Linked DNA regions of Homo sapiens: regions 1 and 2 are each linked to region 3. Evidence: promoter capture Hi-C in 16 types of primary human blood cells and fetal thymus (Javierre and others, 2016). All regions are on one chromosome and are shown on one strand. Each heading gives the region's core, a stretch centred on a gene start or on the middle of the fragment in contact. The rest is flanking DNA. Distances are from core to core; before and after follow the strand shown. Region 1 holds the start of HSPA4 (heat shock protein family A (Hsp70) member 4). Region 2 overlaps AFF4 (ALF transcription elongation factor 4). Region 3 holds the start of RAD50 (RAD50 double strand break repair protein).

What was found. Contacts are between HindIII fragments. The CHiCAGO score rates a contact against its expected background, and 5 or more counts as called.
Region 1: the fragment with the promoter of HSPA4 here is called in contact with the fragment with the promoter of RAD50 in region 3 in 1 of 17 cell types (fetal thymus); the score reaches 6.4 in fetal thymus.
Region 2: a contact is called between a fragment that was not itself captured here and the fragment with the promoter of RAD50 in region 3, in 1 of 17 cell types (erythroblasts). The highest score is 5.1, in erythroblasts.

Annotation. Positions count from the first base shown.
Region 1 is chr5:133,049,727-133,054,056 of GRCh38, forward strand. HSPA4 (heat shock protein family A (Hsp70) member 4) reads left to right here and starts at 2,287. Exons shown (of 19, transcript NM_002154.4): 1 at 2,287-2,631. The coding sequence starts at 2,525. RefSeq lists enhancers at 1,574-2,536, 1,723-1,772, 1,843-1,892, 2,083-2,262, 3,501-4,330. The HindIII fragment of the contact is 9,846 bases long and covers 1,499-4,330 here.
Region 2 is chr5:132,881,515-132,885,769 of GRCh38, forward strand. It overlaps AFF4 (ALF transcription elongation factor 4), which reads right to left. Exons shown (of 21, transcript NM_014423.4): 19 at 3,562-3,605; 20 at 1,826-2,046. Among named protein-coding and RNA genes, the nearest start is that of LEAP2, 10 kb to the left of the region's middle. The HindIII fragment of the contact is 502 bases long and covers 2,066-2,567 here.
Region 3 is chr5:132,555,050-132,559,243 of GRCh38, forward strand. RAD50 (RAD50 double strand break repair protein) reads left to right here and starts at 1,928. Exons shown (of 25, transcript NM_005732.4): 1 at 1,928-2,404. The coding sequence starts at 2,276. It also overlaps a transcript of IL5 not described here. RefSeq lists an enhancer at 1,551-2,211. The HindIII fragment of the contact is 3,439 bases long and covers 1,686-4,194 here.

The sequences.
Region 1 (4,330 bases), core at 1,037-3,536, 500 kb after region 3:
GGCAGTAACACAGACAGTGATCTTTTAGGTCCACTGGACACTTTAGCTTAGGCAGCTCGGGTTGTTTGCTCAGTGATTAACAACTGAGATAAACAGATGGAGACAGGACTCTGTCATAATTAAGGTCAACAGTGTGCTTGGTATTATTGATATTGCCCCTAGGTAGGAGAAAAACAGAGGAAGGAAGGTCAAGGTCAACCTAACTTAAAAAAACTTTAAAAAATTGTGGTGAAATATACATAAAATTTACCATTTTCATCATTTTTAAATGTACAAATCTGTCACTGATCATGCACATTGTTATGCAACTACCACCAGCATCTATCTCCAGAACTTTCTCATCTTCCCAAACTGAAACTCTGTATCCCTTAACTCTCCATTTCACTCTACTTGTGAAACCGCTTTTCTGTCTTTATGTAGTTTATTGTAGGTGCCTGATACAAGTGGAATCATATTAAATTTTGAATATAAAATTAAAAATTAAAAAAAATTAATTTTGATTTGTTTGGCTTTCCACTTAGCGTATTTTCAAGGTTCATTCATGCTGTAGCATTTATCAGACTTTCATTCCTTTGTCTTTTCAAAGCTGTATAATGTACTGTTACGCGTATACACTAAATTTAGAAAACTCATTCATCTGTCAATGGACATGTGGATTGTTTCCTCCTTTTAGCTACCGTGAATAAACTACTATGAACATGGGTATACAATGTACAAATATGTCCCTGCTCTCGTTTTTCCAAAGGCTGTTCCTGGCTGCCTCTACTCTTTTTATTCCCAGTACCCTTTTACAGGTAGCACCTGGTACTTGTCTTTGAAGAATTAACAGGTTTTAGTTAGGCAAAATGTGAGAACAGTGTGGCCATTTGCAAGTTTTAATGGTAATCAACCCGGGTTTGGGGTTGCTCCTATAGAGTGAAGTACCTCCGGAGGTGGCAGGAAATGCAGGTATTTAAAGGGAAGGGCATACCAGGGCAATGTAATTTCTTCTTTGCTCATTCACTTTTAAAATGGCTGAAGGGCAGGTACTCTAGCCTTGAGACCTTCAACTCATGATGTACCCTCCAGCAACGGAGAATTTCTTTTTAGTCCTTAAACTATGGTCTCTATTGCTAGTTTTCCAAACTTGAACACAGCCTTTTCCTTTTCTGGGAAGTTGTCCTAGTCTCCACCATTCTGTGCATATAGCACTCGCCATTCTGTACTGGGGTCACCTTTACTTGTTTAGCCACCCTCATGATGGGGATGATCCAGGTTTTGCAGAGGTGAAACTTATATACCATTGGGGGGCCCTACAAATACACAAAACAAATAATTAAAACGACAAATCACAACACATTACTAGAGACTTGGAGATTCAGATTCTCCTTAGATCTCTCTGGGTAATTTATTAGAAATGCTTACATAGATTTGCTTCCTAATCTCAAGCTGGCTTCCCCTCTCCACAACTCAGCAACTATCTATTCTCCCAGGAGGCCATACAAGCGAGGGGCCCTGAAGCTTAACATTTATTAACTTCATGTAAAGGTCTGAGCGGACCTTTCAGGCCAGGCAGCGTGTCACTTGCCTGTGTTCCTTGTTAGGGCCTACCACCGGGTAGGTGCTTGGAATGTGCTGTGGATTAAAGGCTTAAATCCTGCGGGCCCCTCAATCTGATCTAAGGACATGAGTGGCTTAGAGAACGGCGCAACAAGGCTAAGCGAAAGAAAACAAAGCGGTGTGGCTGGGAGTGGGCTCCTTCCCTCCGCTGGTGAGGGTGCGATCTTAGACTCTTGAGAGAACCCGACATAAAGGCCGCGTTCCAATGGCGGCCTTCTCCCCTACCGGCCAACCTGCCCCGAAAAGAGCAGAAGGCACCCTGCGGGATCTGCAGATCAGCTTGCGTCTCATTCTGGGGCACCGACACGGTGGAATGCAAGACACCCCACTACCGGAAGTTTCTTTGATGTTAAGAAAAACGGCGGAAGTAGGCCGCAGCGCTTCCTCAGTATAGTGCCTCGAGCTGGCTCGCCTACTTTCTACGGTAAAGGGAGGTGCTCCACATCTCTATGCAGCTGTGCAGCGCCGCAGGTTCCATGCGCAGGCTCGGTTGGCTAAATGCGCTTTCCAGCCATCTTTCAGCCACCCAGTCCTTTCCCAGGTTCTCGAGCCAGGACGTGACGTATTCAGACGTACTGGGGGCGGGGCCTCAAGGGGAAAAGCGCCTGAGCCGGGATATCGCGAGAACATCCCGTTCTTTCGTAGCTCTGGTGCTGCGGCTCCGCTCTCGTCGCAACGAGATCTTTCGAGATCTTCTCCGCCCCCGCTACCGGCGCCTCCTCTGCGGCCACTGAGCCGGAGCCGGCCTGAGCAGCGCTCTCGGTTGCAGTACCCACTGGAAGGACTTAGGCGCTCGCGTGGACACCGCAAGCCCCTCAGTAGCCTCGGCCCAAGAGGCCTGCTTTCCACTCGCTAGCCCCGCCGGGGGTCCGTGTCCTGTCTCGGTGGCCGGACCCGGGCCCGAGCCCGAGCAGTAGCCGGCGCCATGTCGGTGGTGGGCATAGACCTGGGCTTCCAGAGCTGCTACGTCGCTGTGGCCCGCGCCGGCGGCATCGAGACTATCGCTAATGAGTATAGCGACCGCTGCACGCCGTAAGTGTGGGCCGGGCCTGCCGCGTGCACTGGGGTTAGGAGATAATGCTTGTTCCAGTCTGGGACCCTCGCTGCTTGGGGAACGCGGGCCGAGGAGTCGCCTCCGTTCCGAGCCGAGGTCCCGGTAGGTCAGGGACCCCCAGTAGGTATTAGGACACTAGGGGCCGCGGCCCACTATGAGCGTGGGTGTGTGCTAAGCGCGAGGGCCTTTTCCCCGGTGGCCCGTCGGCCGAAGAAAGGCTTCTGGCCGGTACTCGGACCAGCGGAGGGCACGGGTAGGAACTGGAAGGACTGCAGGCCTAGGATGTAAACGGATCGCGGTCCTTTTCTTGAGGGCAGAGACCAGGCCCAGGTCGTACTGAGTCTTTTGAGTCCAACAGAAAGCTCAGAACTTTGCACACAGCAGGCGCTTAATAATAGTTGAATCGAACGGGTTCTGGGGCTTGCCAGCCGCGAGACCGTGGAGCGGTCAGCGTCCCACGTGAGTGGGGGCGGGGCAGCGCCCGGAAGAGAGCGAGCTGGAGCAGCCTCAGGCACGGGTTCCGGATGGACTCGGGGTCTTGAGATTGGGTTGGCACGGATAGGAATTTAATAAAATCGGTGCTCTTATGATAACTTTGCAATCGCTTTTGTTTTCCACATTATTTCGGGATATTGTGCTATATTGGGTCACTCTCTGTTTTGTGCGCGTTAACCCCTCAATAGGGTTGCACTTTAACGATAATGCATTCTAACCAGTGTGTTGGCCACAATTGTTAGTGGCTCAAGGGCCCGCCTTGACTTCTAGAACCCATAGTAAGTTTTGGGACCAGCATAGACACAGTTCTAAAAAATGGTGGGTCACTCAGGTCTTTCACTGGTTACAGTGTCTGCCTTTTGAATACTTGTAGATACATTTTAATCCGTTGTCGTGTTCTTAGACAAAATCTTGTAAGAAGTTCTGTATTATTTGCCATTCAGGGTCTCTCTTCTTTTTTTTTTTTTTTTTTTCTTTTTTGAGACAGACAGGGTCTCACTCTGGCTGCCCAGGCTGGAGTGCAGTGGTGCGATCTTGGTTCACTGCAGCCTCGACCTCCCTGGCTCCTGGCTCAGGTGATTCTCCCACCTCAGCCTCCTGAGTAGCTGGCGTTGCAGGCGTGCGCCACCATGCTTGGCTAATTTTATTTATTTTTAGTAGAAATCGGGTTTCACTATGTCACTCAGGATGGTCTCGAACTTCTGGACTCAAGCAGTCCTCCAGCCTCGGCCTTCTGGAGTACTGGGCTTACAGGCATGAACCACCGTGCCCTGCCCAGGGGCTCACTTGTTATTGATTGATTGAGATGGAGTCTCGCTCTGTCGCCCCAGGCTGGAGTGCAGTGGCATGCTCTCGGCTCATTGCAACCTCGGCCTCTGGGGTTCATGCGATTCTCCTGCCTCAGTCTCCTGAGGAGCTGGGATTACAGGCGCGTGCTACCATGCCCGGCTAAATTTTGTATTTTTAGTAGAGACGGGGTGTTGTCGAGTTGCCCAGGCTGGTCTCGAACTCCTGACCTCAAGTGATCCTCCCGCCTCGGCCTCCCAAAGTGCTAGGATTACAGGCGTGAGTCACGGTGCCCGGCCCCAGGGGCTCAATTCTAAGGTCCATTATTTTCACCCTCAATTTTTGTCACATTTCTTCAGCAGGTTTCAGCGAAACTAGATTGTTCAGAAGTCTCAC
Region 2 (4,255 bases), core at 1,067-3,566, 330 kb after region 3:
TACTCAAAACATTTTGTGCATTGCTTTTGTATAAGAAGCAAGTGACACAAAAAGGAGGACATTCTTTGCCTGTTTCCTGTAACAGCCTCTGTGAGGTTAGACACTTAAGATTATATCAAACTTTCGGCTACCATCATATGCCATGAACCAACTGATAACTAAATCCCATGTTTTTATTTATTTTCATTTATTTTTAGACAGTCTCCCTGTCGCCCAGGCTGGAGTGCAGTGGCGCGATCTCGGTTCACTGCAACCCTGGTCTCCTGGGTTCAAGCGATTCTGCTGCCTCAGCCAAATATAAAATACAAAAAAGTTTTTTTTTTTTTTTTTTAGTAGAGATGGGGTTTCACCATGTTGGCCAGGCTGGTCTCGAACTCCTGACCTTGGGTGATCCACTCGCCTTGGCTTCCCGAAGTGCTGAGATTACAAGGTGTGAGCCACCACACCCGGCCACAAATTATGTTTTTATAAATACAGCTTTATGTTGAATGTTGGGATTCCTAGCCTGGGCAACATAATGAGACCTTATCTCTACAAAAAGTAGAAAAATTAGCCAGGTGTGGTGGCACACATCTGTAGTCCCAGCTACTCAGGAGGCTGAGGCACGAGGATCACTTGAGCCCAAGAGGTAGATGCTGCAGTGAACTGTGACTGTGCCACAGCCTGGGCAGCCTGGGTGACAGAGTAAAACCCTGTCTCAAAAAAAAAAAAAAAAAAGTTGGGATTCCACTTTTACCTTTCACCATTGCCTCTCTTTAGGGATAGGAATCTTTCATTTTCATCTGATTACCTGTTCACGCTGTAAGTATTTAAATGTACTCTGTGACAAAATGACACTTGATTGGCTAATGTAGTGTTTCTCTGTAAAGGATCTGCCTAAAGAGAAGCTGCATGCACATATTTGCTAATAACATCTACTAAATAAAATGGTGGTTATACAGTACTTTCCACTAAGGTCTTCAAAGACTTTATAATTCTCCATGTCCTTGGTTTGGGAAATAATAAACTTTTAAAGGGCAAAGCCTCAAACAACCTAATTTTAAAGAATGTTAAGAATTCTGGCCGGACGTGGTGGCTCACACCTGTAATCCCAGCACTTTGGGAGGCTGAGATGGGCAGATCACGAGGTCAGCAGTTCAAGACCAGCCTGGTTCACATGGTGAAACCCCATCTCTACTAAAAATACAAAAATTAGCCGGGCATGGTGGCGGGCACCTGTAATCCCAGCTACTCAGGAGGCTGAGCAGGAGAATCACTTGAAACCGGAAGGTGGAAGCTGCAGTGAGTCGAGATCGTGCCACTGTGCTCCAGCCTGGGCAACAAAAGCGAAACTCCATCTCAAAAAAAAAAAAAAAAAAATTTCTATTCATTCCCTAGTCTCCTTTATTTCACAGGTTTCTTCCAATATACCTAAAAATCCAGTATGAGCATGCTTTCTTATACATTAACCTTCTCAGATGTACAGATGTTTGGATGTAATCTTATGCCTATTGCCAAATTTACTGTTAACCATCCTAGGGTAGGACATATATTTTATTACTTTTATGGTATGAGCTGCATTTAATGTGCCAGAATATAAGCACATTTGTCTTAGTCCAAGAACTATTTTCAGTTTAGTTTTGTCACCAGAATCATGAGAGGTATCTTTTGACCAAATTCAGTTTCATTTATTGTTTAACTGCTAAGCAATGAAGACTATTAACAAACAGATTATCATTAACTCTAAATAATAAAACTAAATACAGACTAAACGCTTACTTAACTAAATTATAAAAGTTCCTTCTAACAATTCCATCCCTTGAAGTTTATCCAGAAACCTACCTACCTTTTTGCTCTTTGGAAAGCTGTTCAGCTTGGTCCCAAATTTCGGTGGCATAGAGGAAGTTGGATGTGACCTGAACATAGCTGGCTGCCATCTGGTGGATCTTCTGTGGAATGGTCACTGAAGAACCACTTGCAGAAGCACTACTGGCCCCAGATGAATAATTTCCTGAATTGCCTGGTGACAGCTTTGGAGAAACAGGGGAAGGCATCCCCACAGCTTTGCTACACAACAGAAATAGGAAGCTTGTTCATATGGACATGGTAAGCATTATAAAATCAAGTACTACTAGCTCTTTCTACATGAAAGCATTTAAAATGTAAAGATTCTCTTAAACTAGATGGGTTTTCAGAGAGCTACAATTTCTTCTAAATAAGTACTATAATCTTGTAATTCATAATCTTGTTATCTTAGAATCTGTAGCCTTTGTTTTAATGAATAACAACAAAACAAGAGATGGACAATAACTGAAGAAGTCATGTACCTTGTTACAGTTCAAAGACTTAAAAGCCAGATCCCCTCACTCTCTGCTCAACACTTTCCATCTGTTCGGGCATATAATTACATATTTTTTATACTGTTTTGTAGAAAGTTTGGTGGAATTCACATTTAACCTAAAAAACTGTGGTAGAAGATGGGAACATCTTTTATTGAACTCCACAATTTCTGACACTTTCCTAGTTTAACCAAATTACTCAGAGGTAACAAAGAGGTACAGCTCTCTCAAGCAACTGTAATCACCCCAAGCTTCCTGCCAATTAAATATTTCTTAGAAAACATACATGTTGAAATCTGGCAGGTTCATTTCAGGAGTATTAAAATTTGTGAAATGTTCAAGACTATGATCACACACTAAAAGAAAGGAAAAATCAAAAGTTGGGGTAAAAATAAACTTGTGTATACACATATATACATATTTTGGAGACACTCATGCTCTGTCACCCAAGCTGGAGTGCAGTGGCATGACCTCGACTTACTGCAACCTCCACGCCTCCCTGGTTCCAATGATTCTCCTGCCTCAGCCTCCAGAGTAGCTAGGATTACAGGCGCGCACGACACCACACCCGGCTAATTTTTGTATTTTTAGCACAGATGGGGTTTCACCATGTTGGCCAGGCTGGTCTTGAACTCCTGACCTTGTGATCTGCCCACCTCGGCCTCTCAAAGTGCTGGGATTACAGGCGTGAGCTACCATGCCCGGCTTGTTTGTATTTTTATCTGCACTTTTAGCATTATAAACTTATGTAAGAAAATACACACAGGACAAAGAATGTCAATTCTTATAAACATAATAACTGAACAGATACAATTTAAAAGGTTCCATGGTGTTTTTTATCCTTTGGGAGATAGGTGGGATGAAAGTGACGTGGAGATGAAGGAGAAATCACAATCATGTCATTGTTACTAAATTCTGGCAGTGCCAAGATCTGACTAAAGATAAGCCTGCTGTGATAAGTCCAAGTAACTATGGAAATCAAACTGTGAAAAGGGTTGAGTGCTAGTAAAAACTCAGATTTCTTAACAGGTGAAACGTCTCATATCTAATCTTTATGATTATGTTCATTTATATTTTCAATTCCTAAAAAATACAGAGAAAAAATTATAACTTCTAAAAATATTTTATCAGAGATGGTTTTACTTATTTAAAAAGTAGTCATCTTTCCATTTTTGGAAATTGGACCATACTCATTTCACTTTTATTGCCACAATAATATTTTACATAATAAAATTTTACCTACCTTCCCAAGCCAGGCGATGGTGCTTGAGAATTATTATAAGAATTCTGTGGAAAAAGTAAAATGTACTTAACAACAACAAAAACCACCACTACTTTAAGAAGTTCTAAATATATTTAAAAGCTTTGGGCAAGAGCTCATCGTGAGCAGCTGTAAATATTTAAGACACCAAAATACGTGTGTGTGTGTGTGTGTGTGTGTGTGTAAAAGTACAAAAGAAATAAATTATTAGGTGAGAGCTGGGTGTTCTGGAAGACTTCACAGAAGAGGCAAGGAAATAATGAGTAACACATGGATAAAGGGAAGGGGGATACATCCCAGCTACTCCCAGCTACCTGGGAGTAGCTGCAGTGAGCCATGATCGTTTTTTTTAAAAAACTCCCTCTTAAAAAAGGGGTGGGTGGGTGGGTGGGTGGGGAGAGGGGAGAGATGAATCATACTATGCACAAAGGCTGCAGAAAAGACAGTGTATGTGCCCCATGCAGTTTGCCTAAAGCAGAGGTTTAGACAAGGAACAAGAGACCCCTTGGGGCCAGGGTAAGGAGTTTAAACTTGACCCAGCAGGCAACTACTGAAGGGTTCCAAGTCATAATCAGAGGCAGATTTTAGGAGGATTTATGTGGTACTGGCCTGAAGAAACATAGGAAAATCTTTTAGGAAACTAAGATAGTAGTCAGAAAAGGATGGCATGAAAACA
Region 3 (4,194 bases), core at 678-3,177:
AACCTACATCTTTCTCATGGGCAGTTCAAAATACGGTTTGTGCTCCTATGAGAATCTAATGCCCCCACTGATCTGAGGCCCAGCTCGGGTGGTAATGTTCACTCACCTGCTGCTCACCTCCTACTGTGCCACCAGGTTCCTAACAGGCCAGGTATGCATACTGGTCAGTGACCCAGGGGTTGGGGACTGAGCTGCAACATGGATGAACCTTGAGGACATTATAAGTGAAATGAGCCAGTCACAAAAAGATAAATACTGTATGATTCCACTTATATGAGGTACTTAGTAAAAAATTATAGAGACAGTAAGTAGAATGTTGGTTGTCAGGGTTTGGAGGATGTGGGGAGGAAAGGGTTATTGTTTAATGGGTAGTTTGTTTTGCAAAGTGAAAAGATTTGTAGAGGTTGAAAGGTGGTGACGGTTGTACGTGAGTATACTTAACACCACTGAAATGTACACTTGGTTAAGATAGTAAATTCTTTTTGAGACGGAGTCTCGCTCTGTTGCCCAGGCTGGAGTGCAGTGGTGCGGTCTCGGCTCACTGCAAGCTCCGCCTCCCGGGTTCATGCCATACTCCTGCCTCAGCCTCCTGAGTAGCTGGGACCATCGGCGCCTGCCACCATGCCCGGCTAATTTTTTGTGTTTTCAGTAGAGACGGGGTTTCACCGTGTTAGCCAGGATGGTCTTCATTTCCTGACCTCGTGATCCACCCGTCTCGGCCTCCCAAAGTGCTGGGATTACAGGCGTGAGCCACCGCGCCTGGCCAAGACAGTAAATTTTATGTGTATTTTACAATTTTTAAAATAAAAAAAGGTCTTTCGTCTTTTCCCATTGTTTTATTACATTTGCTTTGCCAAGTAAGACATTCCTATATAATTTTAATGTTTTGTTCCATTAGTTATTTTAACTATTTTGTAATAACTGACACTTTCCGGTTTTTTTTAACCTGGTACAGCAAGAGACTATTTCTCACTGGTCTTCCCCACTTGCATCCTTTGGCACATACATTTATGTATTAGGTTCTGTAAATTATTTGCTTGGGATTGTATGACTGGAGAAACATTTCCTACATTTTTCCAAGGCAGGCAGAGGCAAATTATACCACTACAGTAATTCCAAATTTGTGTTTCATTTAAATGTCCTCCACTATTGTTTCAGTAATTTTTATGTATGTTTCTCTAGGCCCTTAAATGTGATATCCCTCCATTAAGTTTGTTTCCAAGAAAGCAATATTCTCAGTTACTTCTGAGACAGGTAACTTCTCTTTCCCTTATTTTTAAAGATATCTATTGCTGGGAGCACTGATCGGAATGGATTACCTCTACATTCTTCATATTTGCAGACTGCTTTTAGTTTTAGTTCCCAGACTTTTGGTCTTAAAGACGCCTTTACACTAAAAAATTACGGGGGACCTCAAAGAGCGTGTACGTGAGTTATAATTATCAACATTTACTCAATTAGAAATTAAAATTGGTATTTCTAAGCGCAAGAATACACATGCGCACATTCCATTAACCGCCACTGCAATGGCGTCATCACATGTTATGTGATCACTGGAAATTACTACACGAACGTTAGAGAGAGAATGAGAATGAAAAGGAAAATAGTTTTGACACGAACTGACCCCGCTTCCTGGGTCTCCAATCCACCCCACCACTACCCCCATTCCAGGAGTCCCAGGATCAAGCTTTGGGAAGCGCCATCCGTCACAGGTCTTGGTCTCCCCTTCCAAAAGTCAGTGCCTCTCCAGGCTGCCCATCCCCAGCAAAGATCCGGAAGTCCGCTGCCCCTGGCAACAGCACCCAGCACCTAGCCCTCTGCTTCGCCGTACCGCACCCGGAAGTCGGAGCTGCGCACGCACCGCGGGACTCTGATTTCCCGGCGTGCCCCAGGAGAGCGGCGTGGACGCGTGCGGGCCTAGAGGCCCACGTGATCCGCAGGGCGGCCGAGGCAGGAAGCTGTGAGTGCGCGGTTGCGGGGTCGCATTGTGGCTACGGCTTTGCGTCCCCGGCGGGCAGCCCCAGGCTGGTCCCCGCCTCCGCTCTCCCCACCGGCGGGGAAAGCAGCTGGTGTGGGAGGAAAGGCTCCATCCCCCGCCCCCTCTCTCCCGCTGTTGGCTGGCAGGATCTTTTGGCAGTCCTGTGGCCTCGCTCCCCGCCCGGATCCTCCTGACCCTGAGATTCGCGGGTCTCACGTCCCGTGCACGCCTTGCTTCGGCCTCAGTTAAGCCTTTGTGGGCTCCAGGTCCCTGGTGAGATTAGAAACGTTTGCAAACATGTCCCGGATCGAAAAGATGAGCATTCTGGGCGTGCGGAGTTTTGGAATAGAGGACAAAGATAAGCAAATTATCACTTTCTTCAGCCCCCTTACAATTTTGGTTGGACCCAATGGGGCGGGAAAGACGGTAAGTCTTCAGTAGCCGCCTTCAGTTTACAGGTCGCTACATCTTTCGGAGAATAAAATGGGAAGTTGAGAACTCTCCTTAGGAGCAGAAGCGTCCCTAGGGCTCCACAGGTGTAGGCCCTTAAAGTGCCTTAGGGTGTGGCCTGCAGGCTACAGCGACCTTAGGAGTTTGCCTGAAGCAGTCTCGGAAGGATGTCCGGACCTGGCCTGGGGACAAGGTTTACTTAAGAATCCCACGATACCGGGAGCTGTCGCCGCTCACTCAGAGTTCAGTTCCCACTGGATGCCCTTTGGTCTGTATTGATGTTTTTAACGCTGTCTCCTTGCTTTCAAAGCATAGCATTCACTTCCCAGTAGTTGTCCCATACAAGAATTCCTTTAAAAGTTATAAAATGATACATACATGACTAAAGAGTTTCCAAGTATGCCAACTGTCCAGACATAATACATGGAAAATAAATAAATTCAAAATGTAACTGATGTAGTGGGGCTTAACTTGGAAAACTTCTCTTCTTAAAACTCAGTCAAAAATTTAACGTTGGTGCACGACTGACTTTTTTTTTTTTTTAAAGCCGTGGGAATATTTATAAATTTGAATGGAAAGAATAACCAAGAGGCATTCTGGTCAGGAATAGTGGCTTAAGAAAAAGCAAGACGATGTCAGTATAGCAGGGAGAAGAGTCTAAAGGAAGGATTTGTGAAGAGTGTAGAAAGAGAGAAGGTTGAGAATTGAATGCCAAACTTGTTTACTTTTGTTTTTGTAAAAATGTTATTTGTTGAATGCTTGTTATGTACTTAGGATTGTACTAAATACTAGCAGAAGGGAGAGTAGTACTGTATAGTGTTTATGAGGACTGGCTGCCTCAATACAGCTTTTTCGCTTCATTTATTAGTTGTCTGATTGTTTGCGAGTGACCTCACTGCTCTGTGCCTTAGTTTTCTCATTTATAAAATGGAGATTAAAAATAGTTTCTACAGCTGGGCACGGTGGCTCACGCCTGTAATCCCAGCACTTTGGGAGGCCGAGGCGGGTGGATCACCTGAGGTCAGGAGTTCGAGACCAGCCTGGCCAACGTGGCGAAACCCCATCTCTAATAAAAATACAAAAATTAGCCAGGCGTGGTGGCGCATGCCTGTAATCCTAGCTACTGGGGAGGCCGAGGCGGGAGAATCGCTTGAACCGGGGAGGTGGAGGTTGCAGTGAGCCGAGATCACGCCATTGCACTACACCAGCCTGGGTGACAGAGGGAGACTCTCTCCCCCCACAAAAAAAAAAAAAAAAAAAAAAAAGTTTCTACAGGCTGGGCATGGTGGCTGACGACTGTAATCCGAGCCGTTTGGGAGGCTGAGGCTGGGGGATTGCTTGAGCCCAGGAGGTCGAGAGGTCGAGGCTGCAGTAAGCCATGATCATGCAGCTGCACTGCAGCCTGGGCAGCAGAATGAGACCCTGTCTCTTAAACAAAAAGTTCCTACAGCCTGGAGTTAATGTGAGAATTAAATAAATGTATGTAAGAGTGCTTAGTACAATACAGTACTTAACTGTTAGCCATTCTTATTATTAACTTAAATTAGTTTAAAGGGTTTCAGTTGAAAATAATTATTTTTTTCCCAAGTAACAATTCTTCATATTAGGATAACTTCTTAGTTATATAGCATTTCTGTGAACTTACAGCATTAACACTTAATCATATTTTTATTACAGGTTTTATAATGTCAGATTTTATCTTTTATAGTTTCCATGATAAATAATATTTTTGTAATGAATTCATATTTTATGGTAAACTTCTGTGG